5 separate regions of the Homo sapiens genome follow, and all the other regions are linked to region 5. Evidence: promoter capture Hi-C in human tissues and cell types (Jung and others, 2019). All regions are on one chromosome and are shown on one strand. Each heading gives the region's core, a stretch centred on a gene start or on the middle of the fragment in contact. The rest is flanking DNA. Distances are from core to core; before and after follow the strand shown.

Region 1 (2,700 bases), core at 119-2,618, 670 kb before region 5:
ACCAGCGAATTCCCCTTCACCATCCCTGTACTTTTAATAATGTCATAACTGCCAAGAGTTTCCCCCAAGGACAAGGGCTATTTCCCTCCCACTCCCAGTCCCAGGGACATTCTCCTATTCAGCCAAACCTGAAGGATGGGACTATGGGTGGCCATCACCCAGCTCATTTCCCCAGCGGTTCCCTGCAGAGAATGGCCAGGTCCCACCCCCCCGATGAGCCTACTTCTCCATCACAAATCACAGAGGCCCCAGACTCATCAGGCAAATAGCCCTGGAGGTGTCACTTTCCTCCTCAGACAGGAAGAGTAGTTGGAATCCTGTCACTCACCCAAGAGAAGAAGGTCCAACGGGCAGAGGACACCAAGCTCATTCCCTTCCTCCCTCTTCATCCCCCAACCTCTCCATCTTTATCTTTCTCCCGATGGGGAGCACCTTCTACCTTCCTTCTACATCTCATCGCCTTCCTAAGTTCTAGTTCTTTCTTTTGGGTTGGCAGACACCAGAGGGCAACATAATCTCACCTACTTGCCAGTTCTCCCATTTCACCAGTAGAGGGAAGAGTTTGAGAGAACCTACATCCACCAGGAGTATGTGGAAATTATTTTGAAATATGGAATTAGCCAGAGCAATAGAATAGCTCTCTCAAAGGCATCCCGTGCCAAAGCATTCTGTTCCCGTTGGTAAATAATCTGTTATAAAACTGGTTAAATGCATATTAACTCACCAGAGCAAGACACTGGCAAAATTTCCCCCCAGGCTGTATTTTGCAAAGAAAGCACTTTCACATGATGTCAGACCTGAGATTCAACTAACACAAGTCACATATTTTCTAAGGTAGTACTGACGCTCCATCCCTCGCCCACCATTTAGTCTTTTGAGATCTGGTTATTATTTTGGTTCACAAATAGTTGGTAAGGCGTTGAGCCCTGACTGTCTCGTTGTTTTCGATACATGTCATTTCAGCAATACGGGTGCTTCCAGGGGGCATATGGGCAAGTGAAGATGAGTGGCTTAGAACTGATTATGCACTGGGTGGCAGAGTCCTTGAGACAATAGGTACCCAGGCAGCCACTGTCAATCTTGGAAGTCCGTGCAAGAGCACACCTCACCACACGCTCCCCATTCCGCCATGCATACCGAGAAAACTAGAGAAGGGTCCCTCCCGGGGAAAAATGTTTGGAAGGAGGGATACAGAAATAAAACTTGTGCCATTGACTATTTACCAAATTATTATCCTGACCAAGTTAACATCAGGACCTTTAAAAAGTAGCCAACACGGAGCCGAGCGATCTGCTCAACCATTGCAATGTGCTCGATTGTTTGGATCTAATGACCTGACCTGGATATTTTCTGCTTGGTATCCCTAGCATTTGAACCACTTCCAAAGCCAGAGGTTTATGGAGCCTTTGAATGCCCTAAGAGTCTGTGATTCTCTCCTTCTTTAGATGGACTTTTTAAATCCTAGTTGCTGAATTTATTCAAGTGAATTGGCCTTCATTTCTTCATCAACACCCTTTCTTTAATAATCTCCAACCAAGGTTCTTATCATAAGATCCAAAATTAGATGAGCATTTTGGCCAGGCATAGTGGCTCATATCTGTAATCCCAGCACTTTGGGAGGCTGAAGCGGGCAGGTCACTTAAGGCCAGGGGTTCAAGACCAGCCTGGTCAACATGGTGAAACTCCATCTCTACTAAAAATATAAAAATTAGCCAGGCATGATGGCATTGCAGGTGTGTACCTGCAATCCTAGCTACTCGGGAGGCTGAGGCATGAGAATCACTTGAACCTGGGAGGTGGAGGTTGCAGTGAGCCAAGATTACACCACTGCACTCCAGCCTGAGTGACAGAGTGAGACTCTGTCTCAAAATAAAAATAAATTAAAGAAGTAGATGAGCATTTTCATAAATCCCTTGAAACAGTGAGCACAATTGTATGTGTGTGTCACATTTGTGGGCTTTCTGGGGAGAAGGCCCATAACTTCCATCAGATTCTCAAAGGGCTCCACGACCCTGGCTTTTCACTATGTATTTCTGACGTTGACTAGACCAGAACTTCCCAGTCAGTGTGCAGGATGGGTTACAGGTGTGTGCCTGAGCTGCTGATCCCTACAGCCCTTGGGTCAGGAATGGCAGGGACTTCCAAGCTGGTCATCTCTTGCCAAGAGCCGCCCAGTTGCCATCAAATATTATTTTCTCTGTGTGCCCCACTACAGTAAACTCCTCACTTCTAACCCCTCTGGCATCTTCGTTCTCTGTGTCTCTTCCTCATCTCCACGGCCTTCATCATCCAGCGGGAAGCTTGGCATCGGCCTGGCTCCCTCTAGTGTAATCTGCACTTGGTATACTTTGTCAAGAAAGGGCAGGGGTGTGGTGGTCTCCCCTTCCTAGAAGCACCGCTACCCTCATCTTGGGGATCTGCCTCACCTGCCATATAGTGGTACAAGAGACCAGCTCATTTCATCGCCTAAATTACCCCTCTCACTCTAATCCCACATATCTGCCCGTTTTCTGTGGTAGCTATCCTTTGCCTATGTGTCTAGAAGAATCTCTATGCCAGTTCCCTACTTGGCTCCCAGCTTTGTTACAAATATTCCTCAGTGCACATTTATGCAGAGGCTTTTTCCAACTAAGACACTTAAATCTTACGCAGAATCCACGTAGAGCCAAATTCAAACACAAATATGACAAACCAGCTGGA
Region 2 (2,894 bases), core at 53-2,552, 710 kb before region 5:
CTGTGACCACACACACCCCATGGTGTTCAGTGCCTATGGCAGCAAGATCGAAGTGATGGCCAGGAGAGGATCATTTTGTTCCTTGGACACCTTTCCCTCTCTTTCCTCTTCCTGTATTTCTCCCTCTAAGGATGGATGGGTCTGTGTGTGTATCTTTCTGTTCCACCCTCATTTTCCTTGCCCTGAATTCTCCATTTCCTCTTTTTCTTTACATCTTTTTCTTTCTCACTACATCATCTCCACACCCCAGGCCATCCCTCACCTTCTTTCCTGTAGCTAATTACATTAGAGACTTTCAGAGCATTCTTTTATTTATTTATTTTTTGGTTGTATTAATTAAAGAATTTTGTAATTCTTTTTTTTTTTTTTTTTTTTTTTAAGACAGTGTCTTGCTCTGCCAGCCAGGCTGGAGTGCAATGGCGTGATCTCGGCTCCCTGCAACCTCCGCCTCCCGGGTTCAAGTGATTCTCCTGCCTCAGCCTCCTGAGTAGCTAGGATTACAGGCGCACAACATGCCTGGCTAATTTTTGTATTTTTAGTAGAGACGGTGTTTCACCATTTTGGTCAGGCTGGTCTCAAACTCCTGACCTCATGATCTGCCCACCTCCGCCTCCCAAAGTGCTGGGATTACAGGCGTAAGCCACCGCGCCCAGCCCAGAATTTTGTAGTTCTTTTTATACTGAATTTTATTAAAAATACAAAGCAACCATTTCTATAATTGTCTTTTTTTTCCCCCACTTTAGGTCAGTGGGCCTCAAAAAAAAAGTGAGGCAATTTCTTACCACTACCTTAGGGAATAAAGAATTCTCTCTACCGTAGCACGCACCTCCCTGCAGCATCTTGGGCAGAAATAGGTACACGAAACACATTTAGTAAACATTATTTAGCTAACTGGTTTCCAAATTCCTGACAATGCTAAAAAAAAATTTATTAGATGTACTTTTAACAGTATATATGACATACTTCTGCTGCCTTCTAGAAAAATTGAAAGAAGATGTTTCCATCAATTATTTCATCAGTTGTTATTCATCAATTGTGCTTTGAAAAAATGTACCAGTATTTTAGTAAATCTTTCAGTCTCTTCTAGTTAATGTTAACTCATTAAATCTGTTTTCCAAAGAAAGAATAAGCCTGCATTATTGGTCTTAGCTACAAACTGCTATAAATGGCATTCATTGTTTGCTTTTCTCATAGGCAATAGGAGCTTAAATTTGATGTCAAACATTTTTAAATAAAGACATTTAAACATTTGGCATGTTACACATTTGTCTTGGTTTTAAAAATAATTTTTAAAAATCTTTAAAGAAGATTTCTGGTTTCAAAAAGAAATCTGAGATGGAGGTGATAGTAGCGGAACTCTACATAATTACTAAAAAATCAATGACTTATGCACGTACAATGGGTGGATTTTATGGTATGCAAATCGTACCTCAATAAAGCCACTTTAAAAATTGAGAAAATTAAGCACAAAACCTAATTTGATGGCAAATGTGTTAACTCCCTTAGATTTTGATACACTTGTAAATCCAATTGTCTTCACCTCAATACATAGCTTTCTACATAGCATACTTGGCTTTATTTTTCCAGATTTCCTTGTGAAAAGATATCGAAAACAAAGACTTGCCTACTCTTGCCTGATTATTCTGCCTGAATATTTTTAAAGAGAAATCTTGCCATCTACATGTTTAGACCCCGAGGAAAGTTTTAAAAATAGAAGGCTACCTTGGTCTCTCGGATCAGCGTTTAAAGTAAGCATGGCTCTGGTCCGTGGAGACCCAGACCTGGGCAAGTAGATGATTCGGGATGGTCACATATGCAGATAACTGGCACACACATGCACCTCAGCTCTCCTCCCTGTTGTTCAGCCGCCTCGACCTTTCCTGCCCTGCTCCTGCCAAATCCATCTTCCAAGCCTTCTACTGCTTCTCCTTCCCCATTGCACCCCCGACTTCCTGGAACTCTTGGTAAAGTCCTGAATTAGTCTTGCCAAGAACAACACACAAATCTTTCTATTTTCTAGCCCCATCTTTCCATTTATTTAGCTAAAGCTAAATAATTTCATCCTGCCTTTGTAAAAAGCAGAATGTTAACGCTGTCTATTCATTTTACATCCACTCAATTTCCACATTCCAAGAAATGTCCTCCCTTTTGAACAAATGTGTCTAGCTATCATCTTTGCTACACCTCTTCCTTTTCTGGTCCATCATCTGCTGAAAGAACGGTGTCCTGCGTTTCAGTACCTCCTCCTCCGTGTAAGCCAAGCTCTGGACTTCAGATCATCTGCATTTGATTAGCGTCTGTCCTCTGCTGATATTCTAAGTTTTTTAATTTTTCTAAATTTATTTGTTTTCCTCCTGAGGCGCTGCCAAATATATAGCATCCCTGAGTCTAGTTTCTTAAGGAGACAACTAAATCTATGATTTATAAGAGTTTAGAGGGGACAGGAAGCTTCAGGCATGAGCCTGTTTCTATTCATTGTATTTTCAAAAACACTGATGTTTCTCAAACTCTTGCAGGTCTTAAAACTACTCTGAAATCATAAAACCCACTTAGAATTCAAACAGTCTGCTTCTCACTGGGCCATTCTGTGATAAGTGGAATTAAATAATCTCTGGCCAGCAATAACAGTAGCAATACCAGTAGCAATGGTGGTAGCAGTAACCATGTGTGCCGTGGTCATGGGGCTGGTAATAATAACCAGAGGAGAGATCATCATACTCCTAACAGTAGTGGTGGCCATCATGACAGTGGTGTGGCCACAGTAGTGACAGTGCTGGTAGCATAACTGCTTCCATTTATATATATATAAAACATATTCCATATATGTGTGTATGTATATATATATATATATATTTTTTTTTTTTTTTTTGAGACAGAGTCTTGTTCTGTTGCCC
Region 3 (2,855 bases), core at 97-2,596, 590 kb before region 5:
CTGGTATGCGTTCTTCTGCCCAGCTCCTGATGATCTAGTTGAATTCTAGACATTGTGCCAAGAAGTGTATTTGAAGCAGATAAGTACGTATAATACAAATGCGTCTTGTTAGACCTGATGGATGCTATTTTTCTTTTAATAGGTTTGTAGCAAACTAACACAATAACACAATGTATTCCTTTTCAAGATACATTGTTGAAACAGGTCTATTAAGAGCGCGTTGAGCTATTTCTCGCTTCCATTGAACAGTCTGTTGCTCAAACACAACAGCCAACAAACGCCAGCTGCCTCAACAAAAGTAGAAACCTAACCCTTTTATGTAATGTTTTAACAGAAAGGGTAGCTCTGTTTAATTAAAAACATTGATGATTCAGTGAAACAATAGAAACTCAAGTTCAAGTGGTGCTCTATTGATTTAAGATGATTTTTTACTAGCAATGGGTATAATTCATTTTTTTTCCAGTTCTCTCTTGTGTAAAGGGGTTCCTTCTGGGGGCATTATTTGGGTGAATAGGAAAAGACAGAGATGGCTATTGCCTTAGAAACCTGATTAACGTATATTGCTTTGAGGGTAAGGTGTTTAATTTATAAGTGCACCCCATATTTTTTGTCAGTTTATTCGCGGTGGGGAAGCTTTGAAAGTAGCTCCTCTCAGCAGGTTAAAAAGTGAAGTCTGCGTCCTGGCATTTAAATGTCTTTGTTATTGTGTCAGGCAAGTTGTTGAAAACTGCATGCCCGGAATATTAAGGTTGGGCGGCTAGAGGAGGCAAGTTGTGTGTGTGTGTGTGTGTGTGTGTGTGTGTGTGTGTGTGCGCGCGCGCGCCCCTGGGCGCAGGGCTGTGTGTGCGAGGACAATTATTTTCATCAGCTGCTTGCTAGCCCGCGCCCGACTGCTCCTCTTTGCAGAACCGACGGGCTTTCAACTCTGGAAGTGAAGCAGGACGAATTCCTCCATGGAGACTCCCTCCTTGGGAACGTCGAACTCTCTCTGCCTTGGGGAGTGGGGCTCGATAAAGGGTACCTAGGTCGCACCCTGGCAGGGGAGCACTAGAGGGCCGCGAGGTCCCGGGTTTCGCCATCCTGAGACCCCCGCGCGGATGGCCCAGGAGGGGCGCGGCGGCCCTGAGTCAAGGTGGGCGGGGGCAGGTGCTTCCCTCCACCGCGTTGTCCTATGCCGGCGCGGTCCCCACCGCCCGACCTAGCCCGGCGCCGGCCGAGCACGGCGGCCGCGCTTCGCACTCCTTCCTCCCACCGGGTCCGCAGGCCCGGCTTCACGATTCCCGGGCCCTCGGGCATGTGAGGGACTTGAGTGAATGCAGCTCCCTCAACTCACTCCCGCAAAACCACAGCCAAGAGGGCCTTAAGTCAGAGAACCCGGCCTAGGAGCCTCCCCTAGAGCCTCGGCGCGGGCCCCTTCCCCTTCCCCACATCGGTCGGCCGAGGGAGCCTAGAGCCGGTGGGAGACGGGCAGCGGCCTCTCCTGATCCTTTCCTGCGGTCATACAAGTTCCTAGGGTGGGCCGAGGACAGAGCGCCTCAGGCATCGTCGGCTTCCCACGGCTGCGGCCCAGGCCCAGCCTGCGGCCTTGGAGCCATTCGCTCCAAGCCCCGACAGGCCGCGACCGCCTCGAGGGCCGCACTTCCGCCTGCTACCGACTTTCCGCGCACCCAGGGGTCAAAAGGCACGGCCCGCCTCTACCCACTTCCGGGGTCCGGCCTCCCCAGGTCCGGCTGGCCCCCACCCAGCCCAGGGCCCCTGTGGGTCCCGGAAGCCGGAGGACCGCTGAGACCGAGGCCTGGAGCCCGTCGCCCTCCGGGCCCACCTTGGCGGATGACAGTCGGGGAGGCCGAGGCCAGAAAGGGACCCGCGGGGGAAACGTCCACAGGGGCCCCTTAGGCCTACAGTGAATTATTTAAGCTGTTCCTGGTGTTTAAAGAGGTTTTTCAGTTTTTAAAGAATGTTGTAAAAAAATATCAGTCCTTGTTAACTCCCTCATTACATGCTTTTTTTCCCTCAGCTGAACAAGCTCTATTTCCTGAGTCGCAGGAGTAATGTAAGTGTTTAAACGTGTGTCAAGTGTCTTATAAATAATACAAATTCATACAGAAGAGGAGGAGATTTAACTGATACCTGAAGGACTTGGCATAGCCACATTTGCTGTGCGGTTGTTTTTGGACAGGGACGTGTGGTCGGGAAACCGCCCTGACAGCGCCTGGTGGGGCTCTGTCCTCAGCTCAGCCCTGTGAGTCTGTCCCCACCCCTGTCTAGGAAAGCCCAGGAGGAGTTTGACCAGTTCGTGAGAGACGGTCCAGTGGTCTGCAGTTTCTATACTAGAGCGTCTATACTCAACTCAGTATTTTGGAGTTCCTTTTCTTATTTTTTATTTTTATTTTTTGAGACGGAGGTCTCACTCTGTCGCCCAGACTGGAGTGTATATAGTGGCTCAATCTCGGCTCACCGCAACCTCTGCCTCCCTGGTTTAAATGATTCTCCTGCCTCAGCCTCCCGAGTTGTTGGAACTACAGGCACCCGACACCACACCTGGCTAACTTTTGTATTTTTAGAAGAGAGACGGTTTCACCATGTTGGCCAGGCTGGTCTAGAACTCCTCACCTCAGGTGATCCACCTGCCTCAGCCTCCCAAAATGCTGGGATTACTGGCGTGAGCCACCGTGCCCAGCCCTGGAGTTGTTTTTCTGTCTTTTCCTTTCAGCCTCCTATCCTTTCTCCATTTTTCCTTTCTGGTCTTTCTCCTTCAAAGTGTCTGCTGCTGTGACATTGCTATGACATCCCTCCCTCCTTGTTAGAATGAGGGTTAGTGCTGCTTCTGGCAAAAAAAGACAGTAAGAGGGTTG
Region 4 (2,757 bases), core at 256-2,755, 550 kb after region 5:
TATCTTGAATATAGATTCCTTTAGGATGCGGCAATGCTTAGACCTAAAGAACCATAGCTTGACCCTAGAAACCACCTTCAGAATGAAGCCATCAATATTTATTTGACAAAGCACACCACAAGTATTATAAATATTCAATAGCTTTTTTGATTTACAATGTTAACAATACATTTCTGTTTCTAACTGGGAAAAAGTTTGAGTGGCTCCATTTTTCTTTTCTCACTTTACAAATATTAACAGGTTAATAATAAATGGGAAAGTGGTTATAAAAACATATGACCATAAGACACAAAACCACGGTCCAATGAATATGGCTTGATGAATGTCATTTCTGCTAGAAAGTTGTAGTGTAATTATTGTAACGAGCCACTTTATTGAATAAGTCTCCCAAATAAAATATAGTAATTGGGAATAAGCAATTACTTAAAATTGCATGGGTCGAAGGTGGTATCTCATTTGACTGTATTTGAATTTTCATGCACCCGTGAATTCATAATTAATCCCAAAGTGCATACGACAGATCATGTGTGTGGCAAGATGTTTCTATAAAATAAACTTTCTCTGGAATTGACATTATGCTTAGAAAAAAAATTTTAAAAGGTGATTAATGTGAGCATCAGCAAGATTAAAATGTTGATTATGGATGTATATAAAGGTGAATACCATTATAATATCATGTTATGAAGCTTTGAACAGTATCTTAAAATGTGAATTTTGTGAAGAGAATTTTAGATGATGGGTCAAGATTTCTTATTGTAGGCCAGGTGCGGTGGCTCACGCCTGTAATCCCAGCACTTTGGGAGGCCGAGGTGGGTGGATCACGAGGTCAGGAGATCGAGACCATCCTGGCTAACATGGTGAAACCCCGTCTCTACTAAAAAATAGAAAAAATAAGCCGGGCATGGTGGCGGGCGCCTGTAGTCCCAGCTGCTCGGGAGGCTGAGGCAGGAGAATGGCGTGAACCTGGGAGGCAGAGCTTGCAGTGAGCTGAGATCGCGCCACTGCACTCCAGCATGGGCCACAGAGCGAGACTCTGTCTCAAAAAAACAAACAAACAAAAAAAAAGATTTCCTATTGTAACTTATTTCAATATCATGTGTTCTGAACCCTGTAAAAACACTATGTGTAGGAGTTAAAATATTCATATAAACATGCATGTGCACGTGTGTGCATGCCATGCATACACCAAATCTTCGCTCTTCCTTTGGACTCCTAGGCACCCAGCACAAGTTGATCCCTGCCCTGTGTGAAACATCTTTTTATCTTTCTGTAAATTCCAATAGATTGTAAACTCCTTAGGATATGTATAATGTATTCTTTGTTTATTACATTTTCTTTCATTGTCTAGCACTGTGCATTGTTGGTGCTTGAAATATATTTGAAAATTGAATTAATTTCATAATATTAAAGTATTACTTTTTCTATCTTATATATTTTAATGTAGTTAGTCCTTGAAAATAAGAAATATGAATGACGTAAAAATTACAAAGAGGGACTGCTTATTTTGAAATGAATCAACTAACTTGATATATAGGAACAGCTTGTAATATTAGAAACTAAACAATTTAAAACTTAATGGATCTGATTTTTTTTTGCACGTGAATGTTATGACAATGTTTCGGCCACTAACACAGTAGCCTGGGGTCACTTGGTCAAATCTCCAACATCTTACACATCAAATAATGAAACTGTGCAAAAATCGAGGGAAAAGCAATATCTTCGAGTACTGAAACAAATTTAGATAGGTTTAATATACAGTACTTAATGATAAGAAACTATAAATGCCCGGGTGCGGAGACTCACGCCTGTAGTCCCAGCACTTTGGGAGGCCGAGGCGGGTGGATCACGAGGTCAGGAAATCGAGACCATCCTGGCTAACACGGTGAAACCCTGTCTCTACTAAAAATACAAAAAAATTAGCCGGGCGTGGTTGCGGGCGCCTGTAGTCCCAGCTACTCAGGAGGCTGAGGCAGGAGAATGGCGTGAACCCGGGAGGCGGAGCTTGCAGTGAGCCGAGATCGTGCCGCTGCACCCCAGGCTGGGTGACAGAGCGAGACTCCGTCTCAAACAAACAAACAAACAAAACTATAAATATACGCTAGATAGATTTTAATTACAAAAGTAAAATACAAAATGACTTTATGATTATATCTAATATAAACAGGAAGGCAAAGATTGGAAATCTGCAGAGACAAAAGAAGGTGAGTGGGCTTGTGATTCTAGAGTAAATGTCAGATGCTTTTAACCTGTTTGTGAATTTAGAAATTCCAAAATTTTTTTTTGTTTTGAGACGGAGTCTCGCTGTATCGCCCAAGCTGGAGTGCAGTGGCATGATCTTGGCTCACTGCAACCTCCGCCCCCTGGGCTCAAGCAATTCTCATGCCTCAGCCTCCCGAGTAGCTGGGACTATAGTTGTGTGCCACCATGCTCAGCTACTTTTTTTTAGTAGAGATGGGGTTTCACCATGTTGCCCAGGATGGTCTCGAACTCCTGAGCTCAGGTGATCCGCCAGCCTTGGCCTCCCAAAGTGCTGGGATTATGGGTGTAGAAATTCGAAATTTAAGGTCTGTGGCAACACAAGGAAGCAGGACTTGGACTCAACACCATCATCAGCAACAAATACAACACACTGAGACTAGCATGACACTTGATAGAAGAGACAATTTATAAGTAAAACTGTAGTCAGAAGAGGAAAAAGTTTAAAAAGAAGAGCAAAATGTAAATTTCCAAGATAGATTTAGCAGCGGCCTTAACTCC
Region 5 (2,847 bases), core at 40-2,539:
GGAATAGTTTCAGGAAAACAAGGCATTTTGGGAAAATACGGGCAAACTGCAGGTGCTCTTCATCTGAGCATTTCAATAAATTGAATGAGGCCAGGGAAAAGTCTTCACTTACAGGTAAATGTACATAAGGACACCTACGTGTGTGTAAGACCTACACTTTAAATAGGTCACCTTTAGTTTTTCATTAATCATTTCTCCTGGGACATTTAGCAAAACGAATAACTTGCTTTTAAAAAAGGCCACAAATCCCGGGTGCAGTGGCTCATGCCTGTAATCCCAACATTTTGGGAGGCCAAGGCGGGCGGATCACGGGGTCAGGAGTTCGAGACCAGCCTGGCCAACATGGTGAAACCCTGTCTCTACTAAAAACACAAAAATAAGCTGGGCGTGATAGCAGGCGCCTGTAATCCCAGCTACCCGGGAGACTGAGGCAGGAGAATCGCTTGAACCCGGAAGGCAGAGGTTGCAGTGAGCCGAGATCGCGCCACTGCACTCCAGCCTGGGCAACAGGGCAAGACTTCATCCCAAACAATAAAAAGGGCCAGAAATCGACTGCATTTTCTTATCACTTAAATATTAAATCAACTAAGCGTGGAGTTAAGAAGCTGTGTTCAAAAAACACTTAAGTCTGCTTTTGAGCTTGTGGCGTTGTCCTTGGCCCACAGAGTAAAACAGCAATGATAACCATAATTAATAATCAAGGCAGTAAATTTCTTCAAAATTTCAGAAGTTTCACTAATGGCTCCAAAGAAACCTTAGATCAGAAATTCACAAGTGCCAGGAGACGTTTTTAGATTTCTTTTGCAGCTTCTAGTCTCCTTACAAACAGGAAATCTTTAAAATGAAAAACAATTTCTGAGAAGTGTTAGCCCGGTTCAGCTGAGGTCCTCTGAAAGCCAGCGTGTGGGCTGTCACGCTTCCTTTACAGGGAAGCAGCGCCCGTGCGTGAGGCGGTTCCTGGCTTTTACCGCCCTCTGCCCGTTCTGGCAATCGCGCCCGTGGCCCCCGCGCGGGGCAATGGAGGACGCGTTTCGGGGTCCACCGTCCCCTCCCTCCGGCTGGCCTCGCCGGCCGGCGGCGCCCCAGGCCTCCTCCCTCACCCGCGGGGACGCCGAGTGCTGCGGCCTCGACCCGGACGCCGCGCAGGGAGCGACGCCCCAGGTTCCCGCGGGCGCCAGGACACCCCGCCTGGGGGGCGGAGCAGGCGCAGCCCCGACCCCCGCCCGGGCTCAGCGCCTCACCTGCCGGCAGCCGGGGCTGTCGGGGAGGGCAGGGCCAGGGCGGAAATGCAGGGCCGGGCCCGCGCCTCTGCTCCCAGGCCGCCCCCGGCGGCGCCCCCTGCAGGCGGAACGCGAGGCCCGCCAGCCCCTGCGGCGCCCTCGCACACACGTGGCCGCTCGCACAACTGGCCGCCTAACAGCCAGACCCACCCACGCCGATGCCCGCCGGAGACGCCCCGCCGCAGACACAGCGCAACCAGCTTCACACACCTGGGGACGCCCCACAGAAGTCACATCCACCCTAACACACCTGGGCACTCAGGCTCAAGCCCCGACTGCATGGTGGACCCTGACACACCTGGGCCACACCCCACAAAACAGACTCACAGACGACTCCACAAGCTTGGGGACACGCCACATCAAATGGACACACATGCACACACAAATGAACCCAAGCGCAGACACACTTGGGGATGCCAACCATGTGTGTATCTATCACATCACACACCACCAAGGCCCCCCAGCTGGGCATGCACACAGCCCTGATACCGAGTCCAGACCGCCATCTAGTCACACTGCCCACTTACTTACCAATACTCTTAAAATGAAACTGTGGCCGAAGGAGACAATGGAAGGATGACATCACCTCTTCCCTAGCTCCAGGACTAATTTAAGCCCCAGAAATTATAGGACTGAGAACCAAAATCGAAAGAGAACATTTTCCCTAGAGACAATGGGTTAAAGCAATGCCACTTGGGGGCCAGGTGGTAGGAATGGTACAGCTATGGAGAGAGTGACACTTCTGTCTCTCCGAAAGACACAAATCTGTGTTTATCAGATTAGCAATAATCCCCCTTAATCATTTCCTGCCCTTTCTACTTTCTCATGGATGTGGACTGATTGAAACCTTTATATAAACTGGTTTTTATCCAAACGTTTCCAACAATGCAGATGTAATTGTATTTTGAACAGATGTACAATTCCAAAAGAAATCTAAACCATCAGGTACATAAGTCGTTGGTTTTCACAGTTTTTTCTTGTCTTGGACACTTCATAATTAAATTGAAATGTATTAAAAAACCTTGTCTAGCTCATATTAATATTTTTTTTTTTTTTTTTTTTTTTTTTGAGACGGAGTCTCGCTCTGTCGCCTAGGCTGGAGTGCAGTGGCGGGATCTGGTTCACTGCAAGCTCCGCCTCCCGGGTTCACGCCATTCTCCTGCCTCAGCCTCCCAAGTAGCTGGGACTACAGGCGCCCGCCACTACGCCCGGCTAATTTTTTGTATGTTTAGTAGAGACGGGGTTTCACCATTTTAGCCAGGATGGTCTCGATCTCCTGACCTCGTGATCCGCCTGCCTCGGCCTCCCAAAGTGCTGGGATTACAGGCGTGAGCCACCGCGCCCGGCCTCATATTAATATTTTTAAAGACAGCAGTAATTCTTAACTTTTTGAAGCGAAAGAATGATTCCACTTTCATCTCTTTTTTGAGGGGGGAAAATCATGTCAGCAAAGGAAAGTGAGACAAATAGATAAATAATTCTTCTGATAAAGGAAAATTAAAGATGACGCAGACTAGACGAATTTTTTGTTTGTTTTGAGATGGGTTCTCACTCTGTCACCTAGGTT

The links. Contacts are between HindIII fragments. The study calls those that stand out against the background at their distance.
Region 1: a contact is called between a fragment that was not itself captured here and the fragment with the promoter of GGACT in region 5, in 1 of the 25 tissues and cell types used here (dorsolateral prefrontal cortex).
Region 2: a fragment that was not itself captured here is called in contact with the fragment with the promoter of GGACT in region 5 in 3 of the 25 tissues and cell types used here (dorsolateral prefrontal cortex, lymphoblastoid cells and mesendoderm cells).
Region 3: a fragment that was not itself captured here is called in contact with the fragment with the promoter of GGACT in region 5 in 1 of the 25 tissues and cell types used here (mesendoderm cells).
Region 4: a contact is called between a fragment that was not itself captured here and the fragment with the promoter of GGACT in region 5, in 3 of the 25 tissues and cell types used here (IMR-90 fibroblasts, lymphoblastoid cells and mesenchymal stem cells).

Annotation. Positions count from the first base shown.
Region 1 is chr13:99,916,162-99,918,861 of GRCh38, forward strand. All of the region lies in intron 1 of CLYBL-AS3 (CLYBL antisense RNA 3), which reads right to left. Among named protein-coding and RNA genes, the nearest start is that of CLYBL-AS3, 40 kb to the right of the region's middle. The HindIII fragment of the contact is 5,590 bases long and covers 1-2,700 here.
Region 2 is chr13:99,877,217-99,880,110 of GRCh38, forward strand. The region is part of intron 7 of CLYBL (citramalyl-CoA lyase); the gene reads left to right. All of the region lies in intron 1 of CLYBL-AS3 (CLYBL antisense RNA 3), which reads right to left. Among named protein-coding and RNA genes, the nearest start is that of CLYBL-AS3, 79 kb to the right of the region's middle. The HindIII fragment of the contact is 6,924 bases long and covers 1-2,894 here.
Region 3 is chr13:99,996,257-99,999,111 of GRCh38, forward strand. It overlaps LINC00554 (long intergenic non-protein coding RNA 554), which reads right to left and starts at 1,653. Exons shown (of 1, transcript NR_047483.1): 1 at 1-1,653. RefSeq lists an enhancer at 1,264-2,209. The HindIII fragment of the contact is 3,433 bases long and covers 1-2,855 here.
Region 4 is chr13:101,133,130-101,135,886 of GRCh38, forward strand. The region is part of intron 17 of NALCN (sodium leak channel, non-selective); the gene reads right to left. Among named protein-coding and RNA genes, the nearest start is that of LINC00411, 190 kb to the left of the region's middle. The HindIII fragment of the contact is 3,783 bases long and covers 1-2,757 here.
Region 5 is chr13:100,587,500-100,590,346 of GRCh38, forward strand. It overlaps GGACT (gamma-glutamylamine cyclotransferase), which reads right to left and starts at 1,290. Exons shown (of 3, transcript NM_001195087.2): 1 at 1,242-1,290. RefSeq lists a silencer at 923-1,442. The HindIII fragment of the contact is 6,002 bases long and covers 1-2,847 here.